Regions from separate parts of the Homo sapiens genome. Here all the other regions are linked to region 1. The links are contacts of gene promoters, found by promoter capture Hi-C in human tissues and cell types (Jung and others, 2019). All regions are on one chromosome and are shown on one strand. The core of a region is centred on a gene start or on the middle of the fragment in contact, and the rest is flanking DNA. Distances in the headings are between cores, read along the strand shown.

Region 1 (2,923 bases), core at 282-2,781:
TTTGGTGAGAACCCCCATGAGGTCTGCAAAGCCGATCTGGGTGCCCAGGCTGCCTTTGGCGGCCCGGTCCTGAAGCACGTAGGAGAAGAGTTCCGCGAAGGAGAGGAAGCTGCTGGCGGTCATGGGGCTCAGAGGCTCCAGGTTGCTCTGTTGCATGTCCAGGGCGTACTTCCACAAGCGGATGCAGCGCTCGAAATTGCCCGAGTCGGCGTACACGGCACCCCTGTAACGGATGTAATAGGAAGTGTCCGGGTGCGAGGGACCGAGGATGCGCTCCCGGATCAACAGGGCCTGCATGCGCATCTCATCCGGGTCGGTGATCAGCGCCTCCAGCTCCTCGGTGGTGTTGACCTCCCTGGAATAGTCATAGGCCAGGACCAGCTGTGGGGGCTCCGGTTTGGGCAGGTACTCGCCCCCCTGGTGACGCAGCTCCATGGCCCGCCTCCAGTGTTTAAGGGCCCCAAGCAGATCTCGTTTCTTATCCACATACGTAGCTCCCAGCAATTCCAAGGCTTCCACGGCAGCTTCCCGGCTGGTGGGACAGCAGCTTTCGTAAGATTCCCCGTTCAGTGGTTCCTCTGGGGAGGAGCTGCAGCACGGAGCCCCCTGAGGCTGCGCACACCCCTGGCTGGTGGAGGGGTCTTCTTGGGGCAGCCCAGGCTGAGCCTCTCCCCCTGCGACCTGCTCCTGGCCGGGCTGCTCCTGGATGAGGTACTCCACGATGTTGGTGTGGCCCGTCACGCTGGCCGCGAGCAGCGGGGTCATGCCGTAGCCGTCACGTTCCATGCGGGCCTTGCACCCCAGCAGCAGCTGCAGGATCTCCAGGCTGCCGGACTCGGCGCAGTCATGCAGGGCCGTGTTGCCCTTGGCGCTGCGCCGGTTCACCTGGGCGCCCTGCTCCAGCAGGTAGCGGGCGATCTCACGGTGGCCCTTGTAGCACGAGATCATGAGGCACGTGTGGCCGTGCCGGTTGGCCACCTCCAGGTCGGCCTGGTGCTCGCCGACCAGGTAGCGCACCACCTCCAGGTGGCCGTCGAAGCAGGCGGCGCGGAGAGGCGTGGAGTTGGTGCGCGTGGTGCGGTTCACCGAGGCCCCGCGGCGCAGCAGGCTCCGCACCACGTCCAGGTGGCCGGCTGCGGAGGCGGCCCACAGCGGCGGCGCGCCCTCGATGGTCTCGCCATCGAAGTGCACCGAGCCACCGGCCTCCACGCTCGCGCCGCACCGGTCCACCAGGTACTCCACCACGTCCAGGTGGCCGTAGCGGGCGGCGATGAGTAGCGGCGTTCCCCCGCCGGCCACCTCGCCCGTCAGCTCGTCCAGTTCCTCCCGGCTCCGGCCGCTGAGCAGCTTCTGGAGCAGCTGCAGCTTGCCATCACGGGCGGCGTTGTACACGGCGGTGCGGAGGTCCATGGTTCGGGCCTCCGCCAGGCCATGGGCCGGCCGCCGGGGGACGGGGAGACGGAGGATCAGAGCCCGGACGGGCGGGAGGCAACCTTCACCGTCCCCCTCGCCGCCATCTTAGGGTCTCCTCGGGCGGAACAAAATGGCTGCCGCGACCCGACGGATGGCAGCACGCCGGGAAATGGAGTCCTTTGCGCGGGCCCACTCCATAGAACAGAAAAGGAATCTTGGGGGCTCAAGACTACACTTCCCCAAAGGCCACAGGACAGCCCCTGAGAGCTGTGAGCGCGCGGCATGGTGGGAATTGGCGTTCCAGTCGCAGCGCATGGCATCGGAAGCTAGCAATTTGAGGACTACAATTCCCGTCATGCAGCGTCACACGACCTAGCTTGTGGGAACCGGCGAAATTTGGTGACGTACTTCCCGTGGCTATCTCTGCGTCAGAGCGTATAGAAAAAGCAGGCGCGATACCCTTAAGGACTACATTTCCCAAAAGGGATCACGAGCGACTCTGAGCCAATCAGGACCGAGACCGAAGGCTAAAAGCGACTAGAGGGGACGCGTCTGTTTTGGGCTTGGAGCACGGGCAAGCGGCCCACCGGCAGGGGGCGCCCGGAGGAGGCCGAAAAGCTGGACGGGGCGAAAACGTTTTGAGCTGGGAGAACGGTAAAAAATGACGCGCTCACTTCTTATTCTCACATTCATATATTCATTTATTCATTTACATACATTTATGTATATTCTAGTATGTGTCAGAATTTCCTTCTTTTATTTACGTATTTATTTTTATTTATTTCTTTCAATAACTTTGTGGGGTTTTTTGGTTTTGGTTTTTGTTTTTGAGACAGCGTCTCGCTCTTGTTGCCTAGGCTGGAGGGCAATGCCGCAATCTCGGCTCACTGCAACCTCTGCCTCCCGGGTTCAAGTGATTCTCGTGCCTCAGCCTCCCGAGTAGCTGGGACTACAGACATCCACCACCACGCCCGGCTAATTTTTGTATTTTTGGTAGAGACGGGTTTCGCCATGTTGGCCAGGATGGTCTCGAACTCCTGACCTTGGGAGATCCGCCCGCCTCAGCCTCCCAAAGTGCTAGAATTACAGGCGTGAGCCACTATGCCCGGCCTGACGTGCTGACTTCAATTCCTTTGGATAAAGACCCAGAAGTGGGATTCCTGGATCACCTGGTAGTTTTATTTTTAAATTTTTCTTTGGAACTTCCATACCATTTTCTATAATGGCTATACTAATTAAAATTACCATCAGTAGTGTATAAGTGTTCTCTTCAAATCCTTGCCAACGTTTGTTACCTTTCGTCTTTTTGATGATAGCTATTCTAGCAGTTGTAAGGTGATCCATTCCCTGGCATTTTTTGACAACAATGAATTATATTATGAAAAAGAAATCTTTGGTGACCCGAATTCTTTATTTTTAAAGTTTATTCGAGGTGTAATATATATACAATAAAATGCATTTTTAATAAAGAGGACAGGTTTGGCCGGGCAAGGTGACTCACACCTGTAAT
Region 2 (2,923 bases), core at 297-2,796, 690 kb before region 1:
TTGGCCCAGACAGAGAATTCAATCACACTGAAGAAAGAAAAAAATTCATTCTCTTCTATTCTCTTTCCATTCTGCAGAGCCACTCTGTCCAATATGGCAGTCACTAGCCATGGGTGGCTGTTTACATTAAATTAATTAAAATCAAACAAAATTTGATAGAAAGCAGAGTCTCAAAGAGATACTTGTACACTCACATTCATAGCAGCATGATTCACGATAGGCAAAAGCCAAAAACAACACAAGTGTTTCATCAGACGAATGGATGAGCAAAATGTGATCTATGCATAAAATGGAATATTACTCAGCCTTAAAAAGGAAGGAAATTCTGATACAGGCGATGACATTGATGAACCTTGAGGACATCACACTCAGTGAGAGAAGCCAGACACAAAAGAACAAATCTTGTGTGACTCCACTCCTAGGAGATCCCTAGAGTCATCAGATTCACAGAGACAGAACGTAGGATGGGGAGTGCCAGGGGCTGGGGAGGGGGGTGGGGAGTGAGTGTTTCATGGAGATGGAGTTTCAATTTGGGAAGATGAGAAAGTTTTGGAAATAGTGATGGAGTTTCTCCATGTTGGCCAGGCTGGTCTCGAACTCTTGACCTCAGGTGATCTACCCGCCTCGGCCTCCCAAAGTGCTGGGATTATGGGCGTGAACCTCTGCGCCCAGCCTTGATTTTCCTTTTAAAGTGCCAGGGGGTCTCTGGTTTACAGATCCCAGCCAATACCTGGACCTGGGAGAATTTAGTAACTGGGTTTTGTTTTCCCTGTGAATCCCACAACTGTTCTCTGAACAGCAGCCAGAGGGCGCCCGTGAGCACCTAAGTCAGATCTCGTCTCTCCTCTGCCCACAGCCCTCAATGGCTCCCACCTCCCTCAGGGTCAAAGCCCAAGTCCTCCCCGAGGCCTACCAGGCCCTGCACGACCTGCCCCAGCCCCTCCCTGCCCTCTCCTCCTCCTTGTCTCCCCCTCACTCACTCTGCTCCAGCCACATGGGCCTCCTCGTTGTTCCTCCAACACCCCAGGTGAGGTCCTGCCTCAGGGCCTTTGCACAGGCTGTGCCCTCTGCTGGCAAGCTGTTCCTTCCAAAAGCCATGTGGCAGCCTCCCTAGCCTCCTTTGTGTCTTTGCTTCAGTGTCTCCTCAGTGAAACCCTCATCTGCATCCTAACTGAAAGCTTCAAGCCCTACTCAGAATTGACAGCCCCCTCCACTTCTACCCTTCAGACAAGAGAGCCTGGGACTCCCTCAACAGTGCTCTGAAGCTAAGAGCCTAGGATATCCCGGCCTGCCCACGACCTTGTCCTCAGCCTGGCCTTTCCCCAGCTCGCTCTGCCCCTCCCTGCAGCAGTTCAGAAATTCGTCTGGCGCACAGATGCCAGGTGGGAAAATTAATTGGGCCTTCCTGGGGCTGCTCTCTCTGCTCCCCCGTCAATAACAGCCGTAAAGCGGGATTTATGCGGCCGCGCTGGCTCCTGATGGAAACTGGGAGGAGGGGCAAAACATTCTAGAAAAGTCAATCCCTCGCCCAGGGAGCCGCCGGTGGCTGGGGCTCTGGGACCAGAGCCATCTCCCTGCTGCCCTTCCCTGGGTTGGGTGGGCGGGGAGGGAGGACATCGTCCCGGCTCTCCCTGTCTCTGGTTGGGAATCACATATCTAATTATATCTCACATGTGGGCCGGGCACGGTGGCTCACGCCTGTAATCCCAGCACTTTGGGAGGCCGAGGCAGGCGGATCACTTGAGGCCAGGAGTTCAAGACCAGCTTGGGCAACATGGTGAAACCACGTCTCTACTAAAAATACAAAATGTTAGCCAGGCGTGGTGGCAGGTGCCTGTAATCCCAGCTACTGGGGAGGCTGAGGCAGGAGAATCGCTTGAACCTGGGAGGCAGAAGTTGCAGTAAGTTGAGATTGTGCCACTGCCCTCCAGCCTGGGTGACAGAGCAAGACTGTCTCAAAAATAATAATAATAATAATATTATATCCCACATGTATAAGCACCTGTTGTAGGCTAGGCTCCGTCCCATGTGTTTTTGGAACATCAACATATTTAAAATTGGGAGGCAGGAATTTTTATGTCCCTTTTACCAACAGGGAAACAGTGACACAGAGAGGTCAAGCAACTTGCTGAAGGTTGCACAGCGAGAAAGCAGCAGAGCTGGGATTCGAACCCCGGGCTGTTAGGCTCACATTTGACATTCTCGACCACTTAAGCACGGCCCACTGCAGCTTTTATATGTCTGGTATCTACATTGCAACCCCTCAAGGCTCCCAGAGTTGAGATGGTTGGGCTGAGTGTACCAGGAGGTGAGGGGTGCAGTTTGGATTTGAATCTCCATGGTGGTGGATGTTCTCTCTCATGTCTAAGACCGTTGTTACTGAAGGCCTCCTCTTTTCCTACTCTGGGTAAGAAAGGAGGGGACATCTGGGTGTCGCCAGCTTCCAAACTTTATTCTTATTTCTTTTCTTCTGAGCCAGTTGCTGTGGTTGCCACAGTTGTCCCTGGCTTAGGGGTTTGTGGGGACTAGCATGTGAAAGGATGATACAGGCAGTTGGGAAAGCCACAGTCACATCTTGATTTAACTGAGGGCTGCTGGCTACAGAGGATTTAACTGAGGGCTTCAGGAGCTATTGCATGAAGCCTGCTTGAAACTCTTACATCTGCTGATCCCTCTGGTGTCCGTTGCTTTTCCTTTCCTCTCCCTCCTCAGTAGAGGCTCTTCGAGGCACCCCTGGGGAGGTCATGTAGGATCTGAATTCAAATCCCAACTGTGCTGTGTGACCTTGGGGAAGCGTCTTCCCCTCTCTGGGCTCAGCATTCTTATCGGAAACCCGGGGCTAATAGCAGTAGGGTTGTGCAGGCACATGGAGCAGGCATAGATAGGAGAAAGTCCAGCGCTGACTGAACACGCGGTGGGCTTT
Region 3 (2,923 bases), core at 125-2,624, 660 kb before region 1:
CCTAGATCTTTACTGACCAGGGGCCTCAGGAGGGGCTGAGGAGACAGTGGTATACTCTGCCTCCAGGGACGTGGTGCTGCAGTGGCAGTGGGGACTGGCGCGGCCCAGCAGCTCCAGCCTCCGGGAGCGTAGCTGGACTTGAATGGCCCAGATGGGGGGCCGGTGGCCCGGTAGGGAGGGGTCCTCGTCCCTGAAGCTGTAGGTGGTGGAGTCAAAGCTGTCTTCTGTGGCGGCCACCGACTGTTTGCACACGGGGCAGGAGCGCCGGGGGGCTTGGGAGAACCAGGGGTCAATGCATTTGCAGTGGTAGGTGTGGGAGCAGGGCAGGATCTTGAGTTGGTCGCCCTCCTCATACTCATCCAGGCAGATGGCACACAGGTCGTTGTGCCACGTGAAGGTGCGGACCTGGGCCTTCTGGCAGGTAGACGTCTTCACCGGCCGTCTGTGGCTGCAGCAGGCCTGGGCCCAGAGCCACAGGTGGTTCAGGACAAAGAAGGCTGATACGACCAGGGCCAGGGTACAGCCCAGCACCCAGGACACGGTCAGCACGGGGTGACAGCCCAGGTCGTGGCACGGTGGGTCGTCGGGCAGGAGCAGCGCGTGGGCCGACTTGTTGCAGCCCAGGATGACCCGCAGGTCCTGCGAGGCGGCCTCGCTCACGAACACTGAGGGGATGGCGATCTGGCCCCTCAAGTCCTCGTAGACGTGGGTCATGCTCACGAGGTCGTCGGAGTGGACGTTGTGCACGATGGCCGCCTCGAAGCCGGCGCGCTGGGCGTTCAGCACCTTGAGGTCGAAGGTGCAGTCGTAGCGGCGGATCAGCACGATGGCGCCCAGAGAGCGGTTGCCCAGTCGCGGGGCCTCGATGGGATGGCACGCGTTGGCTGGCTTGACCTCCATCAGGTAGCCCCGTATGCCCTCGGGGGCCAGGGGGACGCCGAACAGCGCCGGCAGATCCGCAAAGTCCACCGAGCTCGAGTTGTCTTCCAGCACGGCCCGTACCACTGCCTGCGCGGGCACCTGGAGCAGCGACAAGACCAGCAAGGCTTTGACTGCCACGAGGGCTCGGCCCGGCCGTGGCCACCCCATGGTCACCCGCTTCGCTGTCTGTGTGCTGCTAGGTCCCACTGGAGGCGGCAGGCATGAGGCCTTTGGGCATCTCCGGGGTCTCCCAGGGGGCCTGTGGCCAGGACGCGAGGGCAGTTGAGTTGGAATGACCGCGTGGCTCAGAGGCAGTGACGCGGCCACTGGGACCCTGCTGGCTCTAGGCATTAAGTGCTCCGGACGGCAGAGCGGCATGCGTCGTGTCTTTGAAGGCCGGTCTCAGGAGGTGCTGGCGCAGGTGGCCTTTCTGGCAGATGACATGGAGACCAGGAGTCACCAGGGTTCTAGATGCCCCCAGCTTCTGTGACATCGCCCTGCTACATTCTGTCCCAGGAGCTGCCAGCTGCCTGGGCCTGTGGCCAATGGATCATTCCTAGGTCTGTGATTTGCCGGTACCCGGGCAAGCTTTGAGATAACTTCTTGAAGGCTCAGGGTATCTTTGGACCCAAGGAGGCCCAGGGATGCTTCAAAAGGGCTGCCGGCCCCCAGCAGTGCAGATTCAGCCCTCACTGTGCGAAGACGCTACCAGCATCAGCTTCTGGAGGTTCCTAGCAACACACTGTAGAAGGTTCAATGTTACCCTTGTCTGAGACTCCAAGAGTGACCCAGACTTGTTCAAGCCACGCCCCCCTACAATGAGATCAGTGCTTAAAACCCAAATTCCTGACCCCCTGTCACCATCCCTCACTCTGCTCCAGCCACACAGATCTCCTTGCTGTTCCTCCAACACACCAGGCAGGATCCTGCCCCAGGGCCTTTGCATGGGCTGGGCCTCCTGCCTGGAAAGCCCTTTCTCTCCGTAGCTGGCTCTTTTATCCGGACTCAGGTCTGAGTCCATATATCCTCAGAGCCCTCCTGGACTTGATTTGGAGGGAGAGTCAAGTGCCAGGGTCAGGGTGGGGCTGGTGGGGGTCAGTGGTCCCAAGTCCGCACCGCCAGGTTGGCCTCCAGGCTTGCACCAGCTTCATTCTCTCTCCCTATAGCATTGCCTCTCCAGCTGGGTCTCCAACTGTGCCCCCTGCCTGAGCTTCAGCCCTGGGCATCAGCCTCACCTCCTCCCCAGTCCCCATCCCCCAAATTTCACACCCTCAATCTGTCTGCAGCCCACTCAAGTCGGATTTCTGTCTCTGCCATTCATAAGCTGTATGACATCAGCTAAATTCCTTAGCCTCTCTGGGCCTCAGCTTCCAGACCTGTAACATAGTCTTTCCCATGCTCTAAACTCTCCCATGGCTCCCCATTGCCCTCCAGATAAAGCCCACACTCTTCTCTGTGGCCTACATGCACCCCTGTGGTTGGGCGCCTGCCAATCTCTGAAGCCTGGATGATTTGCAATGTCCCAGAGGCATCTTGCTTTGTTCACCTCTAGAATTTTGCAAATGCTGTTCCCTCTGCCTGGAACAGAATTCTTGCTCCTCAACTTCACTTTGCCAGGCTGACTACTTAGTCTTTAGATTTTCTGTGTTGGCCTAATACCTCTCAGAGCAGCCCTCAGCCAGTGACAGATGGGAGGTGGTAGATAAATGCCCCCACTCCCTCGTCCCTCTTATGGGACAAATCGAAGTATGTTCTACCATATCTCCTAGAGGTCCCCAGTCGAATGAGCTCCATAAGTCAACGAACCCAGTACTGTCTTGTCAATGAGCCCGCTACTGTCTCCTTCCCTTCCCCACCCACTTCTCTCCCCTCCCACAGCTTCTGAGATCACCTCCCACACAAATCTCTTGTACCATGTAGTGGGTGGGCCCCAAATAGAGATGTTGAACCCCTAACCCCTGGTTCTGACCAACCCCTGTGAATGGACCTTATTTGGAAATAA
Region 4 (2,923 bases), core at 141-2,640, 550 kb before region 1:
TTACAGATGAGAGCTGAGATCCAGAGGCAAATCCATTCTACAGATGGGGAAAGTGAGGCTCCGGGCCTCACACAGCAAATCAGTGTTTTAGCTGGGTTCCAACTGTGGCTCGTCCTGACTCCAGGGAAGCAGGGGATGGTAATTAGGTGAGACCTGTGTAAAGTGCTTACTCTATAAGAAGTGCTCCATCATCCATTCATTCATGTGTTCAACCTACAATAGGGATCTCTGGAGCCACACTGTAGTGTAACTAGAATAAAAACGGGATAATGGGACCAGGCGCGGTGGCTCACGCCTGTAATCCCAGCACTTTGGGAGGCCGAGGTGGACGGATCACTGAGGTCAGGAGTTCAAGACCAGCCTGGCCAACATGGTGAAACACTGTCTCTAACAAAAATACAAAAATTAGCCAGGCGTGGTGACAGCACGCCTGTAATTCCAGCTACTCCGGAGGCTGAGACAGGAGAATAGCTTGAATCCAGGAGGCGGAGGTTACAGTGAGCCGCGATCACGCCACTGCATTCCAGCCTGGGCGACAGAGTGAGACTCCGACTCAAAACCAAACAAACAACAACAACAACAACAAACCGGGATAATGGGATAGAGTGGAGTGGGGCGTGGCTGGTAGCTGTTGTCAGGGAGGGCTTCTCCCAGGCGCTGCTTATTTGAGCAGAAATTGGAAAGATGAGAAGGGGAAGTTCTTGGATGCTCAAGTTAGAGGAACTGTAAGAAGCTGGCTGAGGCGGGAGGATCACCCGAGCCCAACTACTCAGGAGGCTGAGGCGGGAGGATCACCTGAGCCCAGGAGTTTGAAGCTGCAGTGAGCTATGATCATACCACTGTACTGAGGCCCAGGTGGCAGACCCCATCTCTGAAAAAGCAAAGAAGGAGCAGCTGGTTTTTCTGGATCATTGACATGGTGGGGGGGAGGGGACAGGGTAGTGGGCGCTAATGTGAAACGGCGAGCTGCAGAGAGGAGGCGGGATTTTATTCCAAGGGTACTGGGGAGCCGTGGCACAGTTTAGGGCAGCGCACAGAAAGTGCCATGCCCTTTGCACCCAGGACGCTGGGGCTCCCGCACGGACAGTAGCCCCAGGGGCCCTTCCCGCCGCCGCCGCAGCCGCCACCACCACCACCACCCCAGCCGCCCACGTGTCCCGCGAAGCCCCGCGCCCCACGTGCTCCCGCGGCCCTTTAAACACCCCGGAGCCACGTGACCGCGCTGCGCCGTCCCATTGGCCGGGGGGCGTGGCGGCCGCGCGGCTGCGCAGTGACGCGCACGGGCCGGCCCTGCCCCCGACCCGGCGGCGGCGGCGGCGGCGCTGGCGGAAGGGATGACGTCACCGGCTGGGGGGGCGCGCGAGCGGGAGCTAGGGGAGCGCGAGCCGCAGTGAGTGTCCTCGCGCCGCCCGCCCGGCAGCCCGGCCGGCGCGCGCACGCCGCGAGCCGCTGGCGCTCGGGCTCCGCTCGGATCCCATGCAACAGCCACGATGTGAAGCGGGGCAGAGCCGGGGGAGCCCAGCCCAGCCAGCCTCCAGGTAAAGCCAAAAAAAAAAATAAAATCATGGATTAGAGGAAAAAAAAATGCAGGCGCTCCAAGGGGGGTCTCGGAGGCAGCCGAGTGGGCAGCGCGCCGGCTTTGTGCCGGGGAAGCCTGCACGGCCATTGTGCTCGGAGGATGCTCGGCTGCAGCCAGTTGCACGCCCAGCCGCTGCGCCCCGGTAGCTGCGCCCGGACAATGCCCCGAGGGACAGGGCCGGGGCCGCGCTGGGGGCGCTCGGCAGGGGGTGCTGGGGGGGCTTCGTCCGCGGCGTGGGAGGGGGCTGGGCTGGAAGCGCCCAGAGCGCGGCATTGGAAGCTGCCCAGCGCCGCCGGCTGCACCACCCCGGGCTGCGGGCGGGGCAGAGGCGCGGAGGGGGGCGCGCGTGTGTGCGGAGCCGGTGCCGGCCCCGGCGGCGCCCGGCCCGGGTCCCCGGGCGGGTCCTGGAGGCAGGGGGCGCTGTGCCGGGGGATGGGGGGCATGCGGGCGCCCCGGAGCGGAGAGGAGCCGGGACGGGTGGCTCCAGGCGGGGTGGCTCCAGGGCTGCTGCGCCCGCCGCCTTCCCTCTCCGGGTCTCCCTCCCCTGGAGACCCCCTAGTCTACGCCGTCTCCCCTGGAACACTCCGGGCCCTGTCGTTGCCTTATGGGAGGTCGCCCCTCCGGCACTCGGGCATTGCCCCACCCTTCTGCGGCCTCGGCGCCCCCTTCCAGCCTCCCCACCCAGGGGCGAGCCTCAGCCCCCAGCCCCAGGGGCTCTGGCAGGCAGACGCGCACGCCCAGCACCCCAGTCTCCCCTCCGCGCTGGGGGCCCCGTGGGGATCCCGAGAGTGGGGAAGCCGCCCCTGGAACCGCCAGCCCCGCGGGTTCCGCACGCCCCGGGAGCCCCCGGGGGCTGCGGGGGGAGGGGAGGTGACGTCATACCGGGGGCGGGGCCGTCGGCACTGGGTTAAAGGGGGCGCGGGGCGTGCCCTGAGGGGAGCCCCCCAGGTTAGAGTGCCCGCGCCGTGGGTGCGAGGGTTCGGCCAGGTTGCGGCCAAGTTCACCTCTCTTTATGGGAATCTCTCCTAAAATTAAGATCCTCCCCTTCGGACCTCCCCCTACAAATCCTGGACATTTCCCACCAATTCCCCCCCTTCCCAAATTGGGGAACTCCCCTTCGGCCGCTTTCTCTCCAGAATCCTCAAATCAGGGAACCTTTCCCACAAACTGGGAATCTTTTTTTCAGCCACACCCCCCGCCCCAAATCTGGGACCTCCTTCTTCGGTTGACCCTCTTTCCCCAGTCTCAAATCGTCTTCTCGTCTCCCTAAATATGCAGCTTCCAAGAACGCCCCTTCCTCTGCAACCCTTCCTCAAATCCAGCCACCTCCTGGGACCTCATTCC

Evidence for each region. The method cuts DNA at HindIII sites, captures the fragments that hold promoters and counts their contacts. A contact is called where the count stands out against the background at its distance.
Region 2: a contact is called between a fragment that was not itself captured here and the fragment with the promoter of FEM1A in region 1, in 1 of the 25 tissues and cell types used here (lymphoblastoid cells).
Region 3: a contact is called between the fragment with the promoter of ZNRF4 here and the fragment with the promoter of FEM1A in region 1, in 1 of the 25 tissues and cell types used here (lymphoblastoid cells).
Region 4: the fragment with the promoter of PTPRS here is called in contact with the fragment with the promoter of FEM1A in region 1 in 2 of the 25 tissues and cell types used here (dorsolateral prefrontal cortex and lymphoblastoid cells).

Annotation. Positions count from the first base shown.
Region 1 is chr19:4,790,342-4,793,264 of GRCh38, reverse strand. FEM1A (fem-1 homolog A) reads right to left here and starts at 1,531. Exons shown (of 1, transcript NM_018708.3): 1 at 1-1,531. The coding sequence starts at 1,410. It overlaps LOC124904620 (a long non-coding RNA gene), which reads left to right and starts at 1,973. Exons shown (of 2, transcript XR_007067103.1): 1 at 1,973-2,067. RefSeq lists enhancers at 1-563, 851-910, 564-1,220, 1,441-1,710, 1,221-1,878. The HindIII fragment of the contact is 32,697 bases long and covers 1-2,923 here.
Region 2 is chr19:5,478,616-5,481,538 of GRCh38, reverse strand. No RefSeq gene overlaps it. Among named protein-coding and RNA genes, the nearest start is that of ZNRF4, 25 kb to the right of the region's middle. The HindIII fragment of the contact is 4,537 bases long and covers 1-2,923 here.
Region 3 is chr19:5,453,868-5,456,790 of GRCh38, reverse strand. ZNRF4 (zinc and ring finger 4) reads right to left here and starts at 1,374. Exons shown (of 1, transcript NM_181710.4): 1 at 1-1,374. The coding sequence starts at 1,299. The coding sequence ends at 10. The HindIII fragment of the contact is 14,927 bases long and covers 1-2,628 here.
Region 4 is chr19:5,339,279-5,342,201 of GRCh38, reverse strand. PTPRS (protein tyrosine phosphatase receptor type S) reads left to right here and starts at 1,390. Exons shown (of 38, transcript NM_002850.4): 1 at 1,390-1,538. RefSeq lists a silencer at 1,183-1,462. The HindIII fragment of the contact is 6,208 bases long and covers 1-2,923 here.